Regions from separate parts of the Homo sapiens genome. Here all the other regions are linked to region 3. Evidence: promoter capture Hi-C in 16 types of primary human blood cells and fetal thymus (Javierre and others, 2016). All regions are on one chromosome and are shown on one strand. Each heading gives the region's core, a stretch centred on a gene start or on the middle of the fragment in contact. The rest is flanking DNA. Distances are from core to core; before and after follow the strand shown.

Evidence for each region. The method cuts DNA at HindIII sites, captures the fragments that hold promoters and counts their contacts. A CHiCAGO score of 5 or more calls a contact.
Region 1: the fragment with the promoter of WEE2-AS1 here is called in contact with the fragment with the promoter of BPGM in region 3 in 3 of 17 cell types (total B cells, activated CD4 T cells and fetal thymus); the score reaches 9.4 in total B cells.
Region 2: a fragment that was not itself captured here is called in contact with the fragment with the promoter of BPGM in region 3 in 5 of 17 cell types (fetal thymus, total B cells, neutrophils and 2 more); the score reaches 19.7 in fetal thymus.

Annotation. Positions count from the first base shown.
Region 1 is chr7:141,734,591-141,739,291 of GRCh38, reverse strand. It overlaps WEE2-AS1 (WEE2 antisense RNA 1), which reads left to right and starts at 1,250. Exons shown (of 4, transcript NR_199841.1): 1 at 1,250-1,909. SSBP1 (single stranded DNA binding protein 1) reads right to left here and starts at 934. Exons shown (of 7, transcript NM_003143.3): 1 at 882-934; 2 at 102-168. The coding sequence starts at 125. RefSeq lists an enhancer at 1,032-1,917. The HindIII fragment of the contact is 7,644 bases long and covers 1-1,345 here.
Region 2 is chr7:141,012,707-141,017,160 of GRCh38, reverse strand. MRPS33 (mitochondrial ribosomal protein S33) reads left to right here and starts at 2,209. Exons shown (of 3, transcript NM_053035.3): 1 at 2,209-2,250. RefSeq lists enhancers at 1,681-1,880, 2,401-2,450, 1,913-2,558, 3,701-3,770 and a silencer at 2,028-2,336. The HindIII fragment of the contact is 2,107 bases long and covers 2,144-4,250 here.
Region 3 is chr7:134,644,948-134,649,361 of GRCh38, reverse strand. BPGM (bisphosphoglycerate mutase) reads right to left here and starts at 2,509. Exons shown (of 3, transcript NM_001724.5): 1 at 2,425-2,509. The region is part of intron 1 of LOC124901750 (a long non-coding RNA gene); the gene reads left to right. RefSeq lists enhancers at 2,173-2,282, 2,383-2,532. The HindIII fragment of the contact is 1,395 bases long and covers 1,789-3,183 here.

The sequences.
Region 1 (4,701 bases), core at 1-2,500, 7.1 Mb before region 3:
CTCAAAGGTCTTTTGCCCCTGTAGTTAAAAGCCTAAAGAAGTCTTCTGATCACTGTGGCTGATAGTAATACATCTCAGTATTAATACAGACAAGTGACTACCTGTAATACAGGTCTTCGAAACATGGCTTCTATTTTCTTTTCTTACAGTCTAATCTTTAGGCTTTTCCTGAAGGAAAAAAACAAAATAAGAAAAAAACATTACCTCTTATGGCAAAAGTACAACTCACCAGTCCTAAATTCCTAACTATATTCATAATTTTTATGCACTCCAATTTTGTGACCACAACGTACCAACATTCCTGCACATCTGATGAGGATTCCTTCCTCCCTCCCAAATAAACTCACACCTGTATGTCTTTTTGGTCCCAAATAACTTCCTCTTCCTCCAACCCATCGACAAAATTTTGATTCTGAGTTAATCCCACTTCCAATCCACTGTCTTCTCAAATTTCATTACTATGCAAGCTCCCTTAGAGCAGAGATTTGTATCTGCTTTATTCACTGCCATTTTCTAAACTTCTAAAAAAGTTCTTAATGCATAGTAAGGCCTCCATAAATATTAGCATCACCAAGGGACTTATATCTGAAACCTGTTACTGAAAAATTACTGCCTTCATCTCCGTTAACAAAGACCAAGCAGCGTAGAGACCCCCGGGCTAGCCAGCCACACCATAGGGAGAGGTGGACACCCTTTACCGAAGATGGCGCCACCACCTGAAAACCGAGGAGAACTGGAAGGAAATCACGCGGTCCTCCGCACGACTGATGAAAGGGCCAGACACCTACACAGAAACACCTCCCGACCCACGCAGGATCACGCGCAGCCAAAACACACGACTCCAGCACTTCCTTCGCGCTGGCTATCCCTTCCTCCCTCACCTGACGATCTAACCCGAGCAGCCCAGCCACGCAGGGGATCACTTCCGGCGCACAGGGAACGCAAAGCTCGCCAGAGGAAAAAGGAAACAGAAACTCCGCAACTTGCGCCTTGGAAATACTGCCGGCTAGCGCTGCGGGAAACGGCTCCCCTTAACTCTGAAGTTCCGCGATCTTCTCTTTGTGCGCGGGCGGATGGATCAACGCCGCCAAGTGGTGAGTTTGGAAGGTTTCAAGTTTAGAAGGTTTCAAGTTTAGAAGGTTTCAAGTTTGGAAAGAAATGAAATTATGTGATGAGGTTTCTAACTGGGCCCAGGAGGGGGCGAGGTAGGCAAAACAGAGACTAGCTCTGCCTGGAGGGAAAAAAAAGCAACATTTGTGACCAGCCTAGGCGACATAGTGAGACCTGTCTCTACAAAAAATATATAATTAGCTGGGCGTGGTGGCGCGCGCCTGTGGTCCAAGCTTCTCCGGAGGCTGAGGTCGGGGGATCGCCTGAGCCCTGGAGGTCGTTGCTGCATTGAGCCGTGAACGCACCACTGCATTCCAGCCTGGGCAACAGAGCGAACTCTATCTCAAAACAAAACAAAACAAAACAAGAAAAAGAAAAAAAGAAGAAAATTAAAAAAAAAAAGAAAGAAAAAGAACGTCCCAGGTCTGTTGAAGCACTAAGAAAAGCAGAAAAAGAAAGGGGAGCCAGGGAAGGGCTGGCAGGCTGTGCAATTTAAGGGAGCACCAGAAAAACTGGCAATCAAATAATATATTAATGTAATATTTTAAAAAGTAAAAATTAATGCAGGAAATCCGGGAGGAACAAAATAAGAGTCATGTGTACCTTAACAACAGGGTAAGGTCTGAGGATTGCGTCATTAGGCGATTTTGTTGCTGTACGAACACCACAGAATGTACTTTGACGACCTAGATGGTGGAGCCTGGACACACCTCGGCTCTGTGGTGTGGCCTGCTGCTTCCAGGCTGCAAACCTGACAGCATGGGGCTGTACTGAATACCGCAGACCATTGTAATTCATGGTAAGTATCTGTGTGTCTAAACATATGTAAACATGGAAAAGGTACAGTACAAATGCGGTATAAAAGATAAAAATGGCACACCTGTATGGGGCGCTTACCATGAATGGAGCTTGCGGAACTGGAAGTTGCTGTGGGTGAGTAAATGAGTGAGTGGTGGCCCAACATGAAGGTCTAGGACATTATTGTACCCACTAAACACTTCATAAACACTGTACACTTAGGCTACACTCAGTTTATAAAAAATACTTTTCTTCCTTTAATAAACTTTCACTCACTATAACTTTATAAATCTTCCAAATTTTTTTACGTTTTAACTGTTTTGTAATAACAATTAGCTTAAAACACACACTGTACCACTGTACAAAAATATTTTTCTTATATCCTTATTCTACAAGCTTTTTTCTACCTTTGCTTTTTTTCTTTTTTTTTTTAACTTTTTAGCCATTTTTTAAAAAAACTAAGACATAAACACACACATTAGCCTAGGCCTACACAGGGTCATTATGATCAATCTCAGCCTTCCACTTCCACATCTTGTCCCACTGGAAGGTTTTCAGAAGCAGTGACACACAGGGAGCTGTCATCTCCTATAACAGTGTCTTCTTCTGGAATCCCTCCTGAAGGACCTGCCTGAGGCTGTTTTACAGTTAACTTTTAAAAAATAAGTTAAATAATAATATAATAAAAAGTATAGTAAATACATAAACCAGTGACATAGTCATTATTAATATCAAGTAACACATGAGTAATACATTGCATTCTGATGTTTTAGCAGGTATGATGTCACTAGACGATAGGAATTTTTCAACTCCATTGTAATCTTATGGGACCACCTTTGTATATGCACTGTTGTATATGCAGTCTTTTTCCAAAACATCATTATGAAGTGCATGACTGTATTAAAATTTTAACTGAATACAGGATCCAAGCCAGACTGGAGCCTGAGGCACAAGGAAGAATATGCACCCCTGTGTATATGTGTACTTATGTATTTTTAAAAATTGGGGCTAGGAAGGTTAGTGGGGGGCTGGAGGGAAGGTGGGGATGGTTAATGGGTACAAAAAAATAGAACGAATAAGACCTACTATTTTCGATGGCACAATAGGTTGACTATAGTCAATAATTACTTAACTGTACATTTTAAAATAAGAGTGTTATTGGATTGTGTGTAACTCAAAGGATAAATTAAGATGATACCCCATCCCCCATGATGTGCTTATTTGACGTTGCATACCTGTATCAAAATATCTCATGTACTCCATAAATATATACACTTCCTTTGAACCCACAAAAATTAAAAATAAAGACAAAAACAAAAAAAAATGTTTAATTAAAAAAATTTTGGCCAGGTCCAGTAGCTCATGTTTGTAATCCCAGCACTTTGGGAGGTTGAGGGGGTGGATCACTTGAGCCCAGGAGTTCAAGATCAGCTTGAGCAACATGGCAAAACCCTGTCTCTGTAAAAAATACAAAAATTAGCCAGGCAGCCGGGCGCCGTGGCTCACGCCCATAATCCCAGCACTTTGGGAGGCCAAGGCGGGCCGATCACGAGGTCAGGAGATCGAGACCATCCCGGCTAACACGGTGAAACCCCGTCTCTACCTAAAAATACAAAAAATTAGCTGGGCGTGGTAGTGGGTGCCTGTAGTCCCAACTACTAGGGAGGCTGAGGCAGGAGAATGTCGAGAGCCCGGGAGACGGAGCTTGCAGTGAGCTGAGATCGTGCCCCTGCACTCCAGCCTGGGCAACAGTGCGAGACTCCGTCTCAAAAAAAAAAAAAAAAAATTAGCCAGGCATAGTGGTATGTGCTTATAATCCCAGCTACTGAAGTGGGAGGATCGCTTGAGCCTGGGAAGTTGAGGCTTCAGTGAGCCATGATCACACCACTGCACTCCAGCCTGTGCAACAGAGTGAGAGACCCTGTCTCAAAAAATATATATATGTGTGTATATATATATGTGTATATATATCAATATGTATGAATGAAATATGTGTGTATATATATCTCAATATATATACACATATATATTTTTGAGACGGTATATATATATCATCACACAAAATATATGTATGTATATATGTGTATATATATCAATATATATGTATATGTGTTATATATCAATATATATACACATATATTTCCAGAACATTAAAGTAGTTGAAGAAGTATTGAAAATTTTTAAAGTAGATATTGTAACAAGAAAAACCCAGAATTGCATTAATAAAAACCTTCCCCCAAACTGAGAGGAAGCCGAGAAACCAAAGATTGACCCAGACAAGTCCAGCTTGGCGAGTAGAGGAGTTTATCAGGACTTACATACAAGGCACTCCTGGATGGCAGCATGACAGCTGTAGAGATCCGCCTGGCCTCCCATCCCTAAGCTACTTGTAAGCTAATTTTCTGGCTTTTAGCCTACTGTGTGTGATGGAGCTGTTTTCTTTGGTAGGTTCTCAGATATTCTCTGGGATGTTTGGCTTCTCAAACAGCTGCTCTTTGGCTGGTCACCTTGGCCTTGCCACATGGCCTTCAGGATTCAGGCAGTGGACATACACTCTTTAGTAACCCGGGTGGGGGGGACCTGTTACACTACAGGTGTATTAAAATTCACAACATTGTTTTAAGTTTAAATATTTTATTTATGCCAAGATGGATGTAATATAACTTTACTTTTAATGGAAGTAAACTGATCAGTAATGTGTTCAAATCTGCTTTGCTTGTTTTGAGAGAATTGCCATGCCTTCACAATTTTTCTTGACCAAGTAACAACCTTAAATAATTTTAATTAACTTCA
Region 2 (4,454 bases), core at 1,948-4,447, 6.4 Mb before region 3:
GTCTCTATTCACTAAATTGATTTCACAGCCAACTAATGATTCACAGCACACAATTGGAAAACACAGGACTACAGAAAATAGAAATATATAAGGAAATATCTGATTTATAGAGCAATCTCTGATTATAAAAAGTGCTCTTAAAACTGCATTATCTTGGCGGTGTAAATGGGTAAGCCAAGGTCTGGTGAAGTCAATATCCATAGGAGGTTCAATTTTATTCTATTCATTTCATTTTTCCATCCCTAATATTCCAACTTTCCTATTGATAAGTAACAGTCTCTGATTGGCCAATTTCAATGGCTTACTCCTTCTAATCCTGTGGTAGGCTAAAACTGTTCCCCAAAGATAACAGAGTCTAATCCCTGGGACCTGCAAATGTTACCAGATACGGGGAAAAGGCCTTTGAAGATGTGACTAAATTAAGGATCTTCAGATTGAGAGAGTATTTTGGATTAGCTCCATGGGCCTTAAATGCAATTACACATTCCTAAAAGGGAGGCAATGGGAAGTCTGACACACATAGTGAAGGCAATGTGAAAAGGGAGCAGAGATGTGAAGATGTTGGCCTTGAAGTCTAAAGTGATGTGGCCACAAGCCAATGAATGCCAGCAGCCACCAGAAGCTGGAAGAGTCAAAGAACTGATTCTCCCCTAGAGTCTCTGGAGGGAACACAGCCCTGTCAACATCTTGATTTTGGCCCAGTGATGCTGATTTTGAATTTATGGCCTCTAGAACTGTAAGATAATAAATTTCAGTTGCTCTACAACACCAAGTTTGTGGTATTTTATTATAGCAGCCTCAGGAAACTAATATGAACCCCCATGAAATTGACTTAATAAAAGTGATAGTGCAAAGTACCTAAACAGTCACCTGAAACTCTATATACCTAGCTATGTTTCAAGAAAGATTTATGGTAGCTTATAGTAATTCACAAAACATTGATAACACCAATAATTCATACGTGAAAAGGAAAAAACAGGAAGGATATACAAAACGAAGCCAACAAGGTTTATGCAAAAAATATATATATGTGTGTGTATATATATATATACACACACATATATATAGCTCTTGCCTCGAGCCAATTAAAATTTGGCTTTAAACCAGCAGCTTACACGTAAAGGAAGTCTTCTTGTTTATATGATTCAGTGGCCATTACATAAAAACAAGCCAACTCCACAGAAACAAGTACAAAAGACAAGACGAAATTTCTCCCAGGAGTTTCGCTCCTTAGGACTTCTTTTCTGGACTGTAGCCATGTATAGGATACTCATTACCCCTTTGTAAACTTAAATGTAGTCACTAGACCCAACTTTATAAGGCTGTTTACTATATCATATAAGGCTGATAACATGTCAAAACTTAACTTGATAAAAGCAAATCCTATAGCATAGATTGATTAGACGTCAAATTCTAACTTAAAAGTAAATTCTGTAGGAGGAAAGAGGGTGTAAATACAATACCCACTAGGTAGGCAACTCACTACCGATATTAATTCCAGGGTACATTTTGAAATATTTATAAAATGCCTTGAACGATACTCAGAAAACGAGTACAGTTTCCTCACCCAAACTATCAAACATTGAGTAAGTGCTGCATACAATGCCTATGGGATGTGGCTTGCTTGAAAACAGATTTAGTATGGGGTGAAATACTCACAATGCTTTCTACTATCTGCCCAGCGAGGTCTAAGATAACTACTGAGGAGACAAACGTTCCATCCCCTACTCCCTGAAGAAGCTCCTGGGTCAATGGGGGAAAGCGCTCCTAACCCAGTAGCAAGGAAGGCTTGCAGCTAGGGATCCTAATTAACTATTAGAAGATGAGCAGATAGATGGAAGGGGAGGGGGATGGCGCCGCAAGTCGGTCAGAAAGACCACACGGCACACGCATCGCCATTGCTTCAGAGCTTTTGGAGGCAGGTCTGTAGCCATTCCCACCAAAACATACTACCGAACCGTGCATGCCCTTCCAGGAGAGCCAGACCTTTCTAACTCTCCCCAGCCCACCACCTCCCCGGGTCCTCCGCACAGGCGGCGGCGCTAGCCTTACTGCGCAGGCGCCAGGTACACCTCGGAGGCCTCAGGAGGGGGAGCCAGTAACTCCGGGTCGTTCACTAGGGCTCCGCTCTAGCTGCCAAGCTTCCGTTTCTCTACTGCTCCCCGTAATAGTTGCCTGCGCGAGCTTGGAGCCGGGTAGAGGGCGGGCCTTCCGGGACGAGGGCGCGTGGGTGAGGAAGGTCAGGTCTAGGTAAGGCTGTCGGTGACTTTGGGGGTCTGCAGCAAGGGGCGATGGCTGCGAAGTCTACGGGGGTCTCCAACCTTGTAGAGTCGCCAGGAATAGGGCGAATCCACTTCATTAGTGACCAGCTCGGGCGGTTCACGTGCATCACACAAATAACTTGGCCTTTTTCTGCCTCAGTTGGGGGATTTCTTAAACGTAGAATACCCGCGTTTCCGCTGCCGTAATTTCCTCTCAGGCGCAATTACTCTCTTCCATATTGGTTAACAGTAGAAGGCTCAGTTTCTCTGCTCATCACACGGCCTTCGGCACTGTAGCTTTGGGTGGTGGGCTGCAGATTAATTTTGTAACCACCTTAAGAAAAATACGGTAAGGTGATATTTAAGAAAAATATTTGCGAAATGCGCTCCCGAGTCAAACATCGGTTGACTTGACAATACTACAGTTTCCATCACAGTCAGGCATGATCGAGTCAGGTGGAGGGAGTTGAAGATTGTTCTTGATGAACTGAATGCAGCTAATACATTTTCAGTGCCGTTGATGCCTCTATGACTCCGTAAAATAATCGGTACCGGGTTTTTTTGTTTTTAAGCATTCTGTTGAGATTGTTTTTATGTTTAGATTGTTTCTATGACAACGTGTGTACACTGTATGTGAATTCCTTGGATCCTGATGGTTATTAGGGTGGGCACTGTGCCGTGAATTTTGCATATTAGCTTCACATCGCAGATAGTATGACTGTCCTCGTGTAGTCGATGAGAGAACCTGGCAGAGAATAAGCACCATTACAAAAACGACGTGGCCATTAAAAGGCAGAGGCGAGATTCCAACCAGCTTTTTTATTCTGCAGCTGGTGCGTTCTGCTAACCAATGGTTTTTGGGAAACTGGAGAAAGCTCTCTCCCAGAACAATTTACACACACACATACATACACATATCGGCATACAGATGTACACTTCCACTGTTTTCAAAACGCTGAAGCACATCCCGGTTAAGAACTCTTGCACTTCATCTTTACCTTTCAAAGAGAAAAGGCAAACCTAATACAAAGCCACTTATTGAAATAATCTTTTAAATGCATCAGACCTATCAAAAAGATCAAAGAAGTTTGCCCTGTTATGCCAAAGTAAAAATATGGGAATTTTCTTCTCATGTGGGCTTAATTTGTTTTGCTCAGCACATTTGAGTAATTTGTTTTTGCTTAGCATTTTCAGCTCCAGTTAACTTTTTTCATGAGAGTACAGTTTTCTTTAGTTCACATTTAAAGAAAGGTAACACTTAAAGTGACTTGTACTCCCCGAGAATGGTTTCATGTGAATCAAAATGTAATTGACATGCACGTTGTAAGAAAAGCTCCCGTGTTATTCTTCGTGAGAGACATGTGTCTGTGCACTGTGGAAGGAAACAACAAAGCAGTGTCATTGGTAATTGTTAAAACCACTTTCAGTTTCCTCCTGTTTAGCAAGTGGGCCTTTGTTTCTAGTAAGGGATTCAGGTTTGAAAAGGCTTATTCCCTTTCTCTGTCATAAAACTTTAGGACTTGGATTTTATGATATAACCATGTTCCAGCCTATTCTAGTGTGACCTTTTTACTTACAAGTTATGTATCCCAGTAATTTGCCACATTCCAAAATGGGCATGGACATAACAGCAGCATCCTGTGATGGCTTCAGTGACTACTGTCCTACTGAGTCCCTTCCTCCTCCTGGCTATCTTGTCAAGTTATCAAGGTGCTGGTCCTCTCCCTATGTTTCTCTGGCTGTCAGTCTTTGTAAATGAGGTCATCATTCCAGGGAGGCACAAAGTTTTTACTATATGGAGTATCTATCTGTCTGTCTCTCTCTCTTTTTTTTTTTTTCTTAAACATGATTAAGAACAAGGAATAAACAAATGTGTCTATGTAGAATATATGAAAACCAAACTTACAGATCTGGGCTCGTTCTTTTTTGTAAGTTACCATTTACTACTCAGTGCCACTGTTACTCATTTTCGCACTAGTCATGCAAGCTTTGTTTTCAGAAAAGGAGACTCAGAGAAGATGAGTAACTGTTCACAATAACCCAAGGATTAAGTGACAGAGCCAGTAGTCAAACCTAGGCCTCAGGAATCCCTGTTGCCTCTTCATTGACAAATAAAGGGACTTGGAATTCAGAACAGATTTTCCTGAAAACACTGTAACAAACTGATAGTTCCCATACCAGCTTACAGATAAC
Region 3 (4,414 bases), core at 1,260-3,759:
TAGTTGCTTCTAAGTGACATTTTTCTGCCACATTATACTTCGGTATGCTCCAAATTTTCTACAATAATCTGGTTTGGTTTAAATAGGAACACAAAAGAGTATATCCTTGTAATGGGGACAAAAATAGGAAGATCAATAAGACCTAGTATTTGCTAGCACAACAGGGTGACTATAGTAAAAAAAAAAACAATTTAATTGTAAATTTTCAAATAACTAAAAGAGTACAATTGGATTGTTTGAAACATAAAGGATAAATGCTTTTGGTGACAGCTACCCTATGTACTCTGATGTGATTATGCATTGCATGCCTATGTCAAAATATCTCATGTAACCCATAAATATATACACCTACTAGGTACCCACAAAAATTAAAAATTAAAAAACAAGAATATATCCTTGAAGCTGGGAACTTTTACTTGCTAATAGATGGTACAGAATTTACTGCAATGAGATTCTGCTTGTATACTAATAATTTTTACTTTAAAACAGACTTTAAATACAGAGTTTATATCTCAGATATAATTTAATGCAACATCTGCTTTCTAAAGATGCAAAAATCGAGATGGTAGGATCGCTTGAGCCCAGGAGGCAGAGGTGGAGGTTGCAGTGAGCAGAGATTGCGCCACTGCCCTCCAGCCTGGGCAACAGAGCGAGACCCTGTCTCAAAAAAAAAATGCAAAAATTAAGAGTCACAGTTGAAATGATTTGTTTAAGATCACACAAATAGTAACAGTTTCAGGACTAAAGCCAATGTTCTTGATTTCTAACTCAGAGCTCCTTCCACTATGACACTGTTTGAATTATGCTTCTCTGAAGTCCACCACCAACTGGGGAGCATCTGCGGTGTATGAGGTGCTACTGGAATACAAAGATGGCTAAGAAAGAGCTATTCCCTGGACTCACGGGAGGCAGTTCAAAAAAAAAGAAGGCCGGGCGCGGTAGCTCACACCTGTAATCCCAGCACTTTGGGAGGCCGAGGCAGGCAGATCACCTGAGGTCAGGAATTCGAGACCAGCCTGGCCAACATGGTGAAATCCTGTCTCTACTAAAAACACAAAATTAGCTGGGCGTGGGGGCGCATGCCTGTAATCCCAGCTACTCGGGAGGCTGAGGCAGGAGAATCGATTGAATCCAGGAGGCGGAGGTTGCGGTGAGCCAATATCGCGCCATTGCACTCCAGCCTGGGCAACAGAAGCGAAACTCCGTCTGAAAACAAAACAAAAAAAAAACCAAAACAAAAGAAAGAAAGAAAGAAAAAAGACAAGGCCAGGCACGGTGGCTCACGCCTGTAATCCCAGCACTTTGGGAGGCCGAGGCAGGCAGATCACCTGAGGTCAGGAGTTCAAGACCACCCTGGCCAACATGGTGAAACCCCGTCTCTACTAAAAATACAAAAATCAGCCAGGCGTGGTGGCCTATGCTTGTAATCCCAGCTACTTGGGAGGCTGAGGCAGGAGAATCACTTGAACCCGGTAGGCGGAGGTTGCAGTGAACCGAGATCGAGCCACTGCAGTCGCTCCAGCCTGGGCGACAGAGCGAGACTCCGTTTCAAAAAAAATAAAAAATAAAAGACAAATTGACATGAGTTCTGCTTTCACTATTAAAAAACCTTTAGTACCTACAGGTGAAACTTAGCTTTTGATTTTTCCCCTTCTTGGAAAGAGTCTGCATTTAGTCAGCTAACATTCTAGTACCACTCACAAGCTAAAGATCTTCCGTAATTTGCAAGGGAGGCAGTAGGGGGATGAGAGTTATAAGTTAGCTAACAACCAACTATTCTTTAAAGCTTAACTGTGAACTTAACTGCAATTATGCATTTCATTGACCTTCTCTAGTGTAATACCAGCTCGTCCCTTAGAAAAGAGGAAAATACACTTACGTTTTTATTTCTAGTGGTTCTAAGAACTTGTGATTTGGCTCCAGATTCCTACATGAAAACACTGCATATATTCACCTCCTTCTCTTTTCACCGCATTCGAGTTTTTCTGTCTACTACACAAAATGATAGATAGGGCCAGGTCTGCCAGAACCCTAAATACAGCGGCATCGCCCTGCTTCCTTCCAGGGGATCTTACTATTGGAAGGGCTCTGCTACACAGTACCTCAGACATCCAGAAGAGAGTTTATCTTCCCTCCAACTTCTATATATTCTTGCCATAAGGACAGCACTACCAAAGCGGGCTCCTCCTCTCAGTTGACAGAACGGTGACTGCCTGCGAGGCTCATTCTGAGATAGGGACAAGGGAAAGGGACCGGGGCGATAAGTGAGGGTCCCAGCTTGAGGGCTGGAGTGGGCACCAGACTCCCACCAACGACTAAACCGGGGGAAGTAAAGAAACTGGCCTTCCCCGCACCCAAAAATAAAACATCACATCACTAAAAAATGTAAACGTTCGCAACATTTTCTAAAACAAAGCCACTCACCTGCAAAGGGGCCACCAGCAGCAGCAGCAGCAGCAGCAGCCGCTCCTCCGAGCCGCCAAAGAGCCAGCGCCTCCTAGGACTCATCACTGCCGCCGGCATCGACGCTCTTTTCTAGCCCCTGAACCAGACGTGGGCAGGTCCTAGGGCTCTGCCTATTGGAAAGTCGAACTGTCACTCATCCACGGTCCCGGCCTACTCCCGGAACAGGAGAGGTCTCTTCCGTTTACCAAATCCCAGGAGTAAGAAGTGGGGCTCTGATTGGTTTACTCTAGAGACGAGCACATACCTGAACCAGTAAGGAGTTGGCTTCGACGCCAGCGGGCAGGCTTGGGCCTAGGGAAGTAGAAAAACACACCCTAGAGCGTCGCTGGTGCAAAACCTCGGGTGCGGGGAGCATCTTAGCTGTTTGAGGTTCTAGAAAGCGTTTAACGTCTTAAAAGAAACACCTGCGGGTGAAGACAGGTGTCAGCGGACTCTTGGAAGAGAGGAGGTGATGTTTCTTTTACTTATGGGAAATTTAGGGATTGAAACCTGAAGACGAAGCCGAGGTATCCTCCCAGAAGAAGCTCCTTTCGCACAAATTACTCGTGGTTGAAAGTCTTAAGTCGTGATTAAAACAAATGCCTTTAAAGTGCCCAATTTATAGGCAGTAACGCAACCTTACTTTCTCTTACCGCTTTTATAGGGATTCCCCTAGGCAGTTTGCTGACAGTATTTTAGGTGGGGAAGAAAAGTGATTAATGGAATGCCCTAAAAGCTTATTGCACAGAGGAAGGGAGGCTAGAGTGGAATGAGAGAATGACAAATTTGGAGGCGACAATAACTGAACAAGAGAAATCTATGAAAACACCGGAAACCTGGCACGAGGCCTTAAAAGCTTCTAAGCAGGCTTGAACTACCACACGAGGTTTTGAAGCATATGTGTCAGAACTCTTGGGTGGGCGGGAAAGATAAGGAATGTTATGGGAGATTCCCTTCTTAGAAGCTATCCTAAGTAGTGTTTCGTGTCCTCCTGTGAGTTTTTCCTGTTTCATCCTCCTAACAAATGCATTAGGTTTGTGACACGCAAGCAAGTCCTCAGAATAAATTATACATACAGTTGAAAAGATAATCTTTCCACATTTGAAATTCTGTGACACACTCTTTATTGAACTCATTAAGACCTAATCGTAGCCAGTTCTGTATCTCATTTATCCATGTTAGAGCATGACAGTTCCTCCTGGGATATCAACAGAACTTTACTTCCGGGACGGCACTAATCCGAGGCTTGACAGGTCCCAGCAGGTGATAGGTCTCACCTAGTGATAGTTAGAATTTAACTTGCACAAGATTAACTAGAGTTCAGGCCAGAACAGCTGGAAGGGGCAGCTTCCAAATCTTATACATTTGCCCTCTTGCTTTTTTCTCAATATCAGTTGAGGACAAAGTAAGGAGAAAGCTTTTCTTCTACAGTGTAATAAAGCTCCTATTCAGAGTGCCCACCATCCATACTCCGGAGGCTAATGACAGTCATTACCAAGTGACAGTCTTGTGGCATTTGGCATTTAGGGCTACTTAGTCTGGACTTAAGGGCGCCTACTCATTGGATTTAAGTTTACTGTTGTTATGGACACCCATGGAATGCTAGCTTGTCACATAAAACCTTAATATCAAACATCACTTGCCTTTTAGAATCATTCGCAAGAGTATGTGGCTTATGAATGAGTCATTTTGATATAAGATGGAAGCTTATATCAGTGATTCTGTCTAGAAGGAATTAAAAAGCAGATTTTCATCAGGAGCAAGCATGTTTGTAAGACAAATGTGCACAGAGGCTAACAGAATTTCAGGAGTTACTTTTGCCCTATGGCAAGATTGTTCTCCATACTTAATTATGTTACAGTATCATATCCTGAACCCTGTGTCCTGGTCTATTCGATGAGCTGTCTCTCTTATGAATTTTTAAATAACGAGGTCGTGGTTCACAAAGATGATCATAAATCCATTTAAG